Regions from separate parts of the Homo sapiens genome. Here all the other regions are linked to region 2. Evidence: promoter capture Hi-C in 16 types of primary human blood cells and fetal thymus (Javierre and others, 2016). All regions are on one chromosome and are shown on one strand. The core of a region is centred on a gene start or on the middle of the fragment in contact, and the rest is flanking DNA. Distances in the headings are between cores, read along the strand shown.

The links. The method cuts DNA at HindIII sites, captures the fragments that hold promoters and counts their contacts. A CHiCAGO score of 5 or more calls a contact.
Region 1: a fragment that was not itself captured here is called in contact with the fragment with the promoter of USP47 in region 2 in 2 of 17 cell types (naive CD8 T cells and total CD8 T cells); the score reaches 6.1 in naive CD8 T cells.
Region 3: a contact is called between a fragment that was not itself captured here and the fragment with the promoter of USP47 in region 2, in 1 of 17 cell types (naive CD8 T cells). The highest score is 5.0, in naive CD8 T cells.
Region 4: a contact is called between a fragment that was not itself captured here and the fragment with the promoter of USP47 in region 2, in 10 of 17 cell types (non-activated CD4 T cells, naive CD4 T cells, total CD4 T cells and 7 more). The highest score is 13.1, in non-activated CD4 T cells.
Region 5: a fragment that was not itself captured here is called in contact with the fragment with the promoter of USP47 in region 2 in 5 of 17 cell types (naive CD8 T cells, total CD4 T cells, naive CD4 T cells and 2 more); the score reaches 9.6 in naive CD8 T cells.

What each region holds. Positions count from the first base shown.
Region 1 is chr11:10,752,682-10,755,381 of GRCh38, forward strand. It overlaps CTR9 (CTR9 component of Paf1/RNA polymerase II complex), which reads left to right. Exons shown (of 25, transcript NM_014633.5): 2 at 1-89; 3 at 2,277-2,516. Among named protein-coding and RNA genes, the nearest start is that of CTR9, 2.8 kb to the left of the region's middle. The HindIII fragment of the contact is 5,641 bases long and covers 1-2,700 here.
Region 2 is chr11:11,840,551-11,843,250 of GRCh38, forward strand. It overlaps USP47 (ubiquitin specific peptidase 47), which reads left to right and starts at 1,422. Exons shown (of 28, transcript NM_001282659.2): 1 at 1,422-1,674. The coding sequence starts at 1,636. It overlaps LOC107984311 (a long non-coding RNA gene), which reads right to left and starts at 1,291. Exons shown (of 4, transcript XR_001748134.3): 1 at 625-1,291. RefSeq lists enhancers at 498-1,363, 1,146-1,315, 1,364-2,227, 1,526-1,665. The HindIII fragment of the contact is 16,233 bases long and covers 1-2,700 here.
Region 3 is chr11:10,827,149-10,829,848 of GRCh38, forward strand. No RefSeq gene overlaps it. Among named protein-coding and RNA genes, the nearest start is that of EIF4G2, 20 kb to the left of the region's middle. The HindIII fragment of the contact is 5,436 bases long and covers 1-2,700 here.
Region 4 is chr11:10,799,836-10,802,535 of GRCh38, forward strand. EIF4G2 (eukaryotic translation initiation factor 4 gamma 2) reads right to left here. Exons shown (of 22, transcript NM_001418.4): 12 at 2,459-2,600; 13 at 2,214-2,374; 14 at 1,826-1,939; 15 at 1,127-1,252; 16 at 896-1,000; 17 at 597-812; 18 at 255-513. SNORD97 (small nucleolar RNA, C/D box 97) reads right to left here and starts at 1,773; the gene lies at 1,632-1,773. The HindIII fragment of the contact is 163 bases long and covers 1,197-1,359 here.
Region 5 is chr11:10,770,590-10,773,289 of GRCh38, forward strand. It overlaps CTR9 (CTR9 component of Paf1/RNA polymerase II complex), which reads left to right. Exons shown (of 25, transcript NM_014633.5): 18 at 1-43; 19 at 956-1,027; 20 at 1,931-2,066; 21 at 2,538-2,684. Among named protein-coding and RNA genes, the nearest start is that of CTR9, 21 kb to the left of the region's middle. The HindIII fragment of the contact is 4,881 bases long and covers 1-2,700 here.

The DNA.
Region 1 (2,700 bases), core at 1-2,500, 1.1 Mb before region 2:
TTGACTTCGATCAGTTACCGGAGGGAGATGAAGTTATCAGTATTCTGAAACAGGAACACACACAACTGCACATATGGATTGCTTTGGCGGTCAGTATTCATGTAGCAAATATTTTTTATTTGTTGACTAGGAAAATATGTAGTTTCTGTTTTCAGATATAGTAATAGCCAGCTTGGCTGCATGGTAGATTAGTTATACCATGTGTATGGAAGTTAATTGTGTTAATAATTTATGGAACAATAAGGCCGTTTTCCTAAATGATATGCTGCTCTACTGGTGAATTAGTATATGTTGGTAAAGGCAAAATTCATTTAAGTAGTACTCTATATTGAATATTTTATTATTTAGTGCTTGTTCAGTGAAGGCTGGCTTATGGTTTATAGATAAGCTGAAAAGAAGCGAAGTGCTTCTGTGTGAACATTGCTGCTTAACATTGTTTCCTATAACAACAAAACACTTCCCTTAAAATATTCTAGAATGTGATTAGGTTCTGGGAAAATCACTTCACCCAAAATCACAAAAGTTCTTTTGGGTGAAGTTTATCTCAGACTTATGTTTTTTGTCCTATTTAGTCTCCTTCAATGTGAATCTTACTGGAGATTCTCAAGAAAATCCAATCAGAAACCCTAAAATTCTATATCCTCTACTTGCCAGCATCAGCTGCATAATGATGTTTTCTTTTTATAGGAATAGGTAATATAAATGTTACAGTCATTATTCCTAAGTAGATATGCCACATTGCTTTCATACAAACATACAGAAGAGGCTCCTAATATTGTCTTGAAGAGTCAGAGAAATAGGTCTGGAATTGGGCTTATATCCAGTGCTCAAGACTGCTCTAAGAGTTTCTTCCTTTTAGATGTGGATTTACAGAGAAGTATTTTCAGTGACAAGCAGTGCCTTCTTGACTTGAAGTGCCAACTTTTCTTATTCCATGGAGACCAAGCCTCCTTGTCACACACATTTTTTTTAAAACCAGATGGTAATTTAGATGTATATATAATATATATTATATATATATATATTTTTAAGTACATATGCCCTCCTTAACAGCACTTAAACAAAAATTAGAATATTGGAGGATTAGCATGGCACCTGTAGTAGAATAAATTAATGACACATTGTGGGATATAGATTTTTACAGGGAAAAGAATGTAGGCTTTGGGGTTAGATCAAGTCCCGGCATGGCTGCTAACTAGCTATGTGACCTTAGACAAATGATCTAACTTCTGAGCATATGTCCTCATTTAAAATATAGAGATGTTAGCATCTACCTCATAGAGTGGTTGTACAGATTAGAGAATATGTGTATGAAATTCCTTTCATGGTATGTGACCAATAGTCAGTGGTTAATAAGTGGTGGATATTCCACATAGAGACAGAGTCTCTCTATTTTGCCCAGGCTAGACTCAAACTCCTGGGCTCAAGCCATCCTGCCACTACAGCATCCCAAGTAGTAGATTACAGGTACATACCACCACACCTAGTGGATATTTCTTTTATTATTTATAAGTCAAACAGATGCCTAGAGAAGTTGTTAAACAGGCCCAAATCACAGATAATTTTTGGTAGATCTAGAACCAGAACCCAAGTTTTCTATTTAGAATTCTTCATATCTTTCACTATTGTTTTCTCTCTTAGGCTCTACTTATCTGAAAATTTTAGTTAGAAATCAACTAGATAAGCAGCAGATTGGGAACATTGTGAATGATTCCAGTTTTTTAAACAGTTTTATTAAAGTCTAATGGATTTATAATAAACTGCACATATTTGACATTTACCATTTGATAAGTTTTATCATCTGTATATACCTGTGAAACCATCACCACAATCAAGATTAATGAATACATTCATCACCTTCTGAAAGTGTCCTCTGTACCACTCCCCACAAGTCCCCCACCCCACCCCTAATCCCTGTGCCAGACAACCACTGGTCTGCTTTTTGACACTAGAGATTGTTTTACATTTTCTAGAGTTTTATATAAATGGAATCACACAATATGTACTCTTTTTTTGGTCTGATTTCTTTCATTCAGCATAATTATTTTGAGATTTATCCATGTTGTAGCATGTATCAGTAGTTCATTCCTTTTCATTGTAGGATAGTATCCATTTTATGGATACACCACAGCTTGTTTATCCATTCACCTGTTAATCAACATTTTGATTGTTTCCAGTTTTTTGTTATTACAAATAAAGCTGCTGTAAACATTTGTGTACAACTTTTTATATGGACATATGCTTTAGTGATTCTAATTTGTTTCATTACCTTATAGCTGGAATACTACAAGCAAGGAAAAACAGAAGAGTTTGTAAAATTGTTGGAAGCAGCACGTATAGATGGCAATTTGGACTATAGAGACCATGAAAAAGACCAGATGACTTGCTTGGATACATTGGCAGCGTATTATGTACAACAGGCTCGGAAAGAAAAGAATAAGGACAATAAAAAGGATCTTATTACACAGGCCACCTTGTTGTATACAATGGCCGATAAAATTATTATGTATGATCAGGTAAAAATAAAGTCAAATTTCTTTCCATTTATGAAGGGAGAAAAGCACATGAAAGCAAAATGTGTGTGATAGCAGATTTTTTGAAAGAGTTTTTCTTCAAGTAACATGGTTGATAGAGTCAAAAAGAAGAAAGGTTCCTCATTAAAATCGGAATGCTTTGGTTTTTGTACTGTTTAAGTAATAT
Region 2 (2,700 bases), core at 172-2,671:
GAGTGGCCAAAGATGTACTTCCTCCTTTAGGATCTACATCTTTGTGAGTTACCTTTTTTTCAGCTTATGACAGCCATTAAAACCAAGTACAAAAATAACCTGACGTTCAATCAGATATTTTAATAACTATTTCACGAAGTATTAAAGATTTTTAAAACTAACGAAACCTAGTCAATCATATTGATTTCCTTAAATATTTTTAGTGAGAATAACAAAGATTTTTATACCATTAATATGGAAAATAACTAAGTTATTTTAAATGTTTATGTCATCTTTGTCTTAGCCTTTTTACATTTTACAAATGTTTTATAATTCTGCACACAGCAGGACACGTATAAAACTTATATAAGTATATGGATTTTTTTTTGGTAACGGGATTACAATAAAAAAAAGTTTGGAGAACACAAGTGCAGGCAGTTAATGCTGTGGGTGTTAGGAACATGACAAGATTATATTATCTCAGCATGCTGTAAGATCACTGTATCCATAAAAGTCTTCATGAAGGAGCCCCGCCGAGTCTCCATAATGGAAGCAGGATTTGGAGAAATGACTTCTGCAAACTTTGTTTAGTATAACACAAAGCACCATGCTTACTACTAGAGAAGATTAAAATTCTCTAAAAACCTTGTTAACGGAGATCACAGGTTGAAGCATACTGCAGCTCTACTCTTGGAAGGCTAGCTCAGTCTCAGACTTGGCCCTGATGGAGAAGGAAGTTCCCTGGAAGAGGGCAGGGGAGCGCCTCTCCAATGTAGTTGCGGGGGGCGGGCGGTGAGGACACCGCTTCATAAGGGAAGGGGTGGCTGCCTCCCCAAGCAGGGGGTGGCCCCTGAGGTCCCTCCAGCTGGGGGCCCTTGAGAGGGAGGGTGGGGAGAGGGGAAAAGAACGTCAGGAGAGTGAACGGGAGCAAATAAAACGCTGTCCATTCTGACTGGAAGGGCCAGAGCCGTGTCTAAGGGCGGGGGCCGGGAGGTGGCCCGCGGTGGTGTCTCTACCAGGACGAGGCCTGGGGTATCTGAAGAGGGGATGACGTCCAGGCGCTTTGCTAAAGGGAAGCCAGAAGGGTATGAGTTGCTAGGGTCAGAGATGGGGCTTTCGGCTCGAGTCTTTCCCTGCAGGGCAGAGAGTCCGAAGAGCCCGAGAAGGCAGGGAGGACAGTGGGCCTGGTCCTTCCCCGGCCGGCAGAGGGAGTCCCGAGATGGAACGTCCAGCTCTCCTCTAACGAAAAGCGTTTGCATGGCTGTCTCGCCAATTCTGTACCTCCCGGGGCTGAGGAAGAGCCGAGGTGACTAGAAGCTAGCGACAAGTGCCGGCCACCTCCGACGCCAGGCGCCGGGCTTGGAGCCCGACGGGCCGAATTCTCGCGAGAGCGGCCGCCGCCATTTTTCCATTGATTGCAGCGGGCTGGGGGAGGGGCCGACGACGAAGGCGGCTGTGGTAGCGGCGGCGGCGGCGGCGGAGCCCTGGGTCGGTGTCTGCGCGCTGGTGTCTGAGGCCCAGGCTGAGGCCTCCGCTATTGCTGGAGCGCAGGCGGCGGAGAGGATGACTGCCGCTGCCATTCTCTCTTGAGCTAGCGAGCCGCCGCCACCCTCCACCCTCCCCCGGCAGGGCGGAGAGGAGCGGCCGGAGTCAGCGATGGTGCCCGGCGAGGAGAACCAACTGGTCCCGAAAGAGGTGAGGGGCCCCAGAGGAGGTTAGGCCTTAGGCCTGCGGCCGCTCGAGGCAACACAGGCCCGGGCCGGGGTTCGGCTGCGGGCCCGGCCGGGGTGCAGGCTCGGCTGTGGGGGAATGAGGAGGCGTGAGGCAGTCGGGGGTGGACGGTGGGTGCGGCGAGCAGTTGGGAGACCCGCTGGCTCTAGGGGCCGGGGAGCGGACCTCCCGCCTCGGGTTTTATGGGGCTGGACGAATAAAGGAGCGGACGGGAAAGAATCAGGTTCTGCTCTAGGGGAGAAGGTGGCCTTTTAAGTTCTTGTTTAACGTGTGGAGCCGGGAGAGATCATTTCAAAGAAAACATTCTGGAACAGTTGCCTATGGGCACGGCAGGGTGACGGTGCTGCTTCTGGGTTTGACAGTGGCAGCGTATAGCTTTCAGCGCTTGTGAAATCTACACCCAAGTGAGATCTGTGGGAGGGCAGACTTAACTGTTACGACTTTTTTCAACTCCTGTTACTTGGTAGTACTATTGGCCTGCCTAAATGGGGCCTACCGAAGATCGTGGAAAAGTAGTACATGGGACATTAATGTAAAGGAAGGAGATAGGAGAACATTACCACATGGAGAGCTGAACTCTTTTTTTTTTTTTTTTTTTTTGAGGTTGGGTTGTGTATGCCAATTTGAGTGACTTCTTAAATTCTTAAAAGCAAGTGATACGAGAAGCCTTGACTACTTGGCTTCTCTTGAATAGTAGTAGAAGATTTAGGGTAGAATCCAGCACTGGCCAGCGAATTTCAACGTATTAATAGTATCTCTGTTGGCTTTATAAATATCTTCGGCGTATTCAAATGTGTATTTTTAACTGGCTGATCATCAGGCTAATGCTTTGGATTTTTATTTCTCATATACCTTAAATAGAGACAAGTGTTGGATTGAAATTAACTGTGTGCGATCTTGAAATTAATGAGTGATCATTACAGATTCTTAAATTTTTTTGTGCCTGTTTTACTTGTTTTGTAGCAATTCTTTGTTACTTAAGCAAGCTCT
Region 3 (2,700 bases), core at 129-2,628, 1.0 Mb before region 2:
GACAGTGTAACTTGGGGCCAGGCACAGAGTTATTCATTTATTCAATAAATATTTACTGAATGCCTACTATGTGCCAGGCATTATGCTAAGATGCTGGGGATATACCTAGTAATGAAGAAGGAAGAAATTGTCTCTGCCTACATGTAACTAAAAGTCCTTGGGAGAAGAAAGATAGTGAAAAATAAATCCAAATGCGATGTGTTATGAAAGAGGAAGTATAAAGTGCCATGAGTATGAGTGGAAAGAGCAGTTAAAGGTGAGCAGAGGAGCAGCTCTCAGTGGAAAGAAATCAAAAGCTAAGATAAAAACCAGTAACACTCTGGATGGGTGGGAATAGATTGAAATCCATAAAGCCAAAGAGATTTGAATTACTTGACTTCAAATAGGTTGAATATTTCAGTAAGGTAAGGACTCTATTCTTTTTCTTTCTCGGCCTTTGTCCAGAGAGTGGGAAAAGTTTGAAAGATTTGGTCTGAATCCAGGTTTTAAAAATTATTTTTATGGATTGATTAATATTGTTATGCACAACAGGACTACAGAATGTAGGAGATGGGGTAACTGTCCCCAAAAGAGGTCATAGCCTTGTTGGAGAGACAACATATAAACATAGAAAAAAATAAAAGAGGTCTCTTAGGAGACTATAAATGATTAAAGCCTTAATGAAGGCAGAGGAAGAAGTTTCTATGGGCACAAATAATAAGTAATGATGTCTTGCTAGAGATGTCCTATTTTAGAACTTATTGGTGAATTATGACATTCTAAGATAGGCCTAAGTGTACAAGACTTAGGTCTAAAATTAGGCATTAGAAACTGCCTCCCTGTTTGGCCTGGCTGATGGCAGAGGAAGGTTCAGAAATACAGGGGAGATTCAGTAGCCAAAGATGGGTTCATCTATAGCTATGATGAGATAAACAGTTTACACCAAGATTATACATTCTGGTGTCTAGAAGGGGGATCTTCGTGTATTCATCCATTCTCACACTGCTATAAAGATACTACCTGAGACTAAGTAATTTATAAAGAAAAGAGGTTAATTGACTCACAGTTCTACATGGCTGGCGAGTCTTCAGGAGACTTACAATCATGGTGGAAGGTGAAGAAAAAACAAGGACCTTCTTCACATGGCAATAAGAGAGAGAAGGGTGAGCAGGGGAAATGCCAGATGCTTATAGAACCATCAGATCTTGTGAGAACTCATTCACTATCACAAGAACAGCATCGGGGGAACGACCCCTATGATCCACTCACCTCCCACCAGGTCCCTCCCTTGACACATGGGGATTATGGGGATTACAATTCAAGATGAGATTTGGGTGGGAACACAAAGCCTCCATATCATTCCGCCCCTGGCCCCTCCCAAGTCTTTTTCTCTCATTTCAAAACATAATCATGCCTTCCCAACAGTACCTCAAAGTCTTAACTCATTCCAGCATTAAACCAAAAGTCCAAGTTCAAAGTCCCATCTGAGACAAGGCATGCCACTTCTGTCTAGTAGCCTATAAAATCAAAAGCAAGTTAATTACTTCCAAGATACTATGGGGGTATAGGCATTGGATAAATACTCCCATTCCAAATGGAAGAAATTGGCCAAAACAAAGGGGATACAGGCCCCACGCAAGTCTGAAATCCAGCAGGGCAGTCATTAAATCTTTAAGCTCCAAAAGGATCTCCTGTGACTCCATGTCTCATATCCAGGTCATGCTGATGAAAAAGGTGGGCTCCCATGGCCTTGGGCAGCCCTGCCCCTGTGGCTTTGCAGGGTATAGCCCCCGCCCTGGCTGCTTTCATGGCTGGCATTGAGTATCTGCGGCTTTTCCAGGCTAATGGTGCAACCTGTTTGGAGGATGGTGGCCCTCTTCTCATAGCTCCAATTAGGCAGTGCCCCAGTGGGGACTCTGCATGAGAAATCCAACTTCACATTTCCCTTCCACACTGCACTAGCAGAGGTTCTCTGTGAGAGCTCTGCCCCTGCAGAAGACTTCTGCCTGGACACCTGGGCATTTCCATGTATCCTCTGAAATCTAGGCAGAGGTGCCCAAACCTCACTTCTTGTTTTTCTGTGCACCCGCAGGCCCAACACCACATGGAAGCTGCCAAGACTTGGGGCTTGCATCCTCTGAAGCCATGACCCAAGCTGTACCTTGGACCCTTTCAGCCACAGCTAGGATGAAGGGTGCCAAGTCCCAAGGCTACAAACAGAGCAGCAGCGGGGCCTGGCCCACAAAACCATTTTTTCCTACTAGGCCTCCAGGTCTGTGATGGGAGGGGCTGCCATGAAGGTCTCTGACATGCCCTGGAGACATTTGCCCCATCGTCCTGGCTATTAACGTTTGGCTGCTGGTTACTCATGCAAATTTCTGCAGCTGGCTTAAATTCCTCCCCATAAATGGTTTTTTCTTGTCTACTACATGGTCAGCTGCAAATTTTCCACATTTTTACACTCTGTTGTCCCCCCCCTTTTTTTTTTTTGAGATGGAGTCTCACTCTGTCACCCAAGCTAGAGTGCAGTGGCGTGATCTCAGCTCACTGCAACCTCCGCCTCCCAGGTTCAAGTGATTCTTGCACCTCAGCCTCCAGAGTAGTAGCTGGGATTACAGGCACCCACCACCATGCCTGGCTAATTTTTGTATTTTTCATAGAGACAAGGTTTTGCCATGTAGGCCAGGCTGGTCTCCAACCCCTGACCTCAAGTGACCCACC
Region 4 (2,700 bases), core at 28-2,527, 1.0 Mb before region 2:
TGATGTCCCCAAGTATGTAAGATCCATGTAGCAGAATAGAGAACCAACCCAGCAAATGAAAAAAACTCAACATACGGATCAAATGAAAGTAGTTAAATTATAAATCTCTCTTTATAGGTGAGATCTGTGGTAATGTTTATCATTATCTGAGCAGGACAATCAGACTGTCTGACCTACATAAATCCACTCAAGGTACCTGAAATCTCTAGATATAATATTAAAAAAACAAAACAAACAAGTCAGCATTCTCTTACCTGGGAGCATTTTCTGCATATTGACCTTGCTTTGTTGAAAAAGTTCTGTTAACCATTCTCGATCTTGTAATTTAGCTAACTGCTGAAGACAAAGTAGGAAGAGAGGAAAATGGGTGCCACTTTCTAGTGGTTGAGCTAGTTCTGAAATGCTCACCAGCTCTGAAATGATGGCACGAGCTGCAAACTGTGCTAAATAGGATTTCACCAAAGGGATGTCAACCTCCAGTTTGGGACACTGGTCCAATACATTCAGGAAAGCCTTGAAAGAAATATACAACAGTTTATCAGTTTTCGAATTTGAGTGGTAAGAGTTCTTACCACACAATCAGTAAAGTGTCCTACCTGCATGAAGTTGTCACTTGTGGCTATCCCTTCCTGTTTGAGTAAACTGATCAAAGAACTTGCTTTTTCTTTATCTTCATCGCTTCTATCTAGTGACAGGATGATTACTTTGCTTAACATCTCAGGAAGAAAGTGTTTAGGAGCCCTCATTTCTCTTACACCATTGACAGCCTCATTTGCATTTCCACTATTTAGATATTCAGTCACAACAGTTTCCTGTGAAGAACACAAGTATCTTTAATGTATTCTCTATCTCAAATACAGGCTAATTACACTAAAATGGGATATTTGAAACTTACAGTTAGTTTAAGGAGTTCTTCCTTTGACGGTGGTGGCTTTTTGCTGGTCTTGGCAGGCTTTTCCTGGATAAGCGGTGGATTAGTTTTGAGACCAAGCTGAGGTGTCTAAAAAACAAGCAATGACAGACTTTTTTTAAAAAGAGGACTATGAAATTAGGGGGAAGAACACACTAAATTTAGAAAAAAGTCTTCAGATATCTTTAGAAAATGCTGTCCTACTATGGTCTGTACCTGTCCCAGAGGTGGTGTTTGAGTGCGTGGTGGTTGTGCACTAGGAGGAATCATAGTTATCTGGGGCTGAAGCTTTGGCACTTGATTTTTATTCATTAGGAACGACTGAGCAGGCCTCAGGCTAATCTGGAATTGAAAACAAAATATATCTAAATTAACAACATGCAGTTGGCGAACATATTAAATACAACATTCTAAAATCCTATACAGTGACAGAATCTAGGGAAACATTAAGCTTTTTGAAAAACTAAAGAAGGTACTCCACATTAACAGGTTTAATTTTTGGCAAAAAATTTAAAGATCTGATGCATACAGTAGTAAGATACTATTATAAATCTTACATTCTCTTAGAATTAGCATGACTAAAATATTCAAATAAAAAACTGCAAATTTAACTACAGTTTAGAAAATGCCCTGTTTTATCCTTAGTTAAATCACCCTTACAAAGAAAGAAACCACAATATTTTGACAACCAGTTTTCTTGCTCTAACAGACTTTAGGAGACTTGCCCTCATATCTCATAATCTTCGCTCACAGGACGCTGGACATTCAAAGAAAGAAAAAGAAGTATAGAAAAGAGAGAAAAACGTCAAGAACTCCAGCATAAAGTCCTCTTAATAACGCGTCTTTTTATAATCATCGGGCAATAAATTTCTGAATGGACAAACTATGGTATATAAGTAACATAGGCAAATGTACCTCATCTGCATTAAGCTGTCCTTTCTTAGAAAACCGAGGTGGCATATCCTTCGACTGTCCTTGCAGCTGGGATAAGAGTCCCTGACTCTGGTTATGGTAGAGCTGGCTTAGCCCCTATTTCAGAAAAGGAGAAAGAAAGTCTAGATAAAAAGGGGTCCACAAATTATGGTAATCAAGTACCAAAGGGATGAGCCAAGCCATAAAGTTAGTTTAACTGAATTTGCCCAGAGAAAGTAAAAGATGAAACAGGGAAGAATAAAAATCTAACCTATCAAATAAAGTGATGTGATTTTACTAATACTTTACTAATCTTAAGGATAAACATTTCAGTTTGAAATAAATGTTGCAGATAAGGTTTAGAAAACATGCACACTCAAATATTACTTACCTGGCTTTTCATAAACTTGCCTCCCATCTCTCCAAACTGCGATTGTGTGGGAGGCATGATGTGTCCCCCATGGCCATTGAAGAGTTGATTTGAACGATGACGTCCCATGGTGGGTGAAAATCTATCCTGGATAACTCCTGGACCAGTACCAATTCCGCTACCTTAAAATACATATACGGACAACTCTCAAAACTAAAGTTAACTGATTTTTCAGCTTAACGCAACCATTGTTTTTTCAAAATTACCTGGCATTTGTCCAAACATATCAGCAAGTCCTCCAAGTGGGTCCCTATCCATTTTCATCCTGGGTGGCATGAACGGTCCCTCCAGAAAGAAGTCACTTCTCATCCCTTGAGCCATAGGAGCAGGAATAAACACCCCTAGATCCTTTAGAAATGAAGTGAATATGCACTTTTTGTCTCTGGACACTATTTCACTTAAAACTAAAATTCTTGCAACTAGGGGGGGAAACCTAGAATATTAAACC
Region 5 (2,700 bases), core at 1-2,500, 1.1 Mb before region 2:
AGGAAGTACTTAATGCTGTGAAAGAACTGGAGCTTGCACATAGGTAAAGATTTTGTAGAAACAACCTATGAAATGCTTTATTTGGTCTATGACCATACCATCTTGAACTCTCCCGATTTTGTCTGAAATGCTTTGTTTAAAGCTATTTGTCTCAAGCTGCTGAAAATCACTTCCTTCTAAAGGTGGTCTATTAGAATCATTCCAGCAATAGTTAAGCCAAAGCAGATAGCAGCTGCCACCAGGTGGTGCCAAACTATAGTCAGGATCCTGCCAGATTTGGATCTTGTAGCTTGACCTCTAGAACTGGCTGGCTAGCTTTGCAAACTTGCCATAGATTTTTTATTAATCTGACAGTAATGTGACCCAGCATTTTACACATGTGAAATTTTTTGGACACTTACGTTGGTCTTCCATTTTACACCAATGTGTCTTTTAATGGGATGTTGATTTTCATTGAACTAGGATTAAGGTTTTACTTCTTAAATAATGCTTAATAGTTTTATTCAGTTCAGCTCAAAATTTATTTAGCCATATAGTATTTATATGGTGAGTCAGTGTGTGGTGAAATTAAAACCTGTCATCTCTTCAGGTTTTGTCCAACTTAATATTTTTATTCTTGTTTAACAATTCTTGCCTTGCCTGGTAAATTATAAGTGCTTTCATGGCCTGAGCCCCGTAACCTCCATCCTGACATATTTAGTAAATTTCATGTTTAGTAAATACTTGTTGCTTGAATTGCTTTGTGGTTATTTGTGAATTTACTGATAATATTAAATATAACTTAGACCATCTTGATGAACGTGTCTATTAAATGTAATGAGTGGCATAAATTTGTGTAAATCAGTCAATATGCAAACCTTTTCTCAGACTTTGTAGCACAGATTAAATTTTTTAAGAGCTTTATTTCATTAGAATCTCTTTTTTTAAAAGTGAAGTATTTTCTCGTTTCATTTAGATACTTCAGTTATTTGAGTAAAGTGGGAGATAAAATGAGATTTGATTTGGCCCTTGCTGCTACAGAAGCCAGGTAATGTTACTATTTATGGAAGGTGACTTTGGGTGAGGCAGTGATATTTACATGGGCTGGGAAAGTGCCACAGTAGGGAACAGAGGTTCCTGACCTTCCACAGGTCAGTCTTTCACACTTCTCTTGGGGACTCTCTAATCTTTGCCAGGACTTTTTCCTTTCAGGGAATTGGACAAAATTGCCTTAGTACAAGTACTTGAGTTCTGGGGGAAAATACTTTTCTATTTTACTTATGTCAGCTATGTCAGCCTAGTCAAGATAAAATTCATGACTCTGAGTTATATGTAAAGATAATGTTGGAAATCTTTTTAGCTGTGCTTTGAGAGGACATTTATAGTTTGGAAACTTAACATAGTTGGCAGTATTGGCTTATGATAAACTAAGTTAATTTTGCTAATTAAGACTCCATACATTGGTATGGTATGGCAAGTGTAATGCAAAAAAAAAAATTTTTTTTGGCTGGGCGCAGTGGCTCACACCTGTAATCCTGGCACTTTTGGAGGCCTAGGTGGGCGGATCAGCTGAGGTCAGGAGTTCAAGAGCAGCCTGACCAACATGGAGAAACTCCGTCTCTACTAAAAATACAAAATTAGCCAGGTATGGTGGTGCACACCTGTAATCCCAGCTACTCGGGAGGCTGAGGCAGGATAATCACTTAAACCCGGAGGCGGAGGTTGCGGTGAGCCGAGATGGCACCATTACACTCTAACCTAGGCAACAAGAGCAAAACTCTGTCTCTTAAACAAAAAAGGAAGAAAAAAAACATTTTTTTAAAAAAAGACTTCACATAGATCAGCTAATGGTCCTGCTTCAGATTTTTTAATTTGTATAAGGAAAATAGATGTGCTGAGTTTTTTAATATAGTAGTTACATTCATGTTTCTCTAAACCTGAAATGTTCTAGGCAGTGTTCTGACTTACTGAGCCAGGCCCAGTACCATGTGGCCCGGGCACGCAAACAAGATGAAGAAGAGCGGGAGCTGCGGGCCAAGCAAGAGCAAGAAAAGGAGCTGTTAAGGCAGAAACTTCTTAAAGAACAGGTATCTTGTATTTTCCAGTTATACTGGAATTAATGAATTGTGTGCATGCATACACTTTGTATGTTTAAAAAAAAAAGTCCTCTGCCAGGCGTGGTGGCTGACACCTCTAATTCCAACACTTTGGGAGGATGAGGTGGGTGGAGGGCGGATCACTTGAGGTCAGGAGTTCGAGACCAGCCTGGCCAACATGGTGGAACCCCGTCTCTACTAAAAATACAAAAATTAGCCAGGAGTGGTGGCATGCACCTGTAATCCCAGCTACTCGGGGAGCTGAGGCAGGAGAATCACTTGAACCTGGGAGGCCAAGGTTGTAGTGAGCCGAGATTGCACCACTGTACTCCAGTCTAGGCAACAGAGTGAGACTCCATCTCAAAAGAAAAAAAAAAATCCTCTGCTTAGGATGGTAGCCATTAATTTTTCATCATAAGAAAATTTGCAGTGGGGTTTCTTTTCTACCATTTTTCCTCATAGGAAGAGAAACGTCTCAGAGAAAAGGAAGAGCAAAAGAAACTTTTGGAACAGCGGGCCCAGTATGTGGAGAAGACCAAAAATATTCTTATGTTTACTGGTGAGACTGAAGCAACAAAAGAGAAGAAAAGAGGTGGTGGTGGTGGACGGGTAAGATATAATTCCT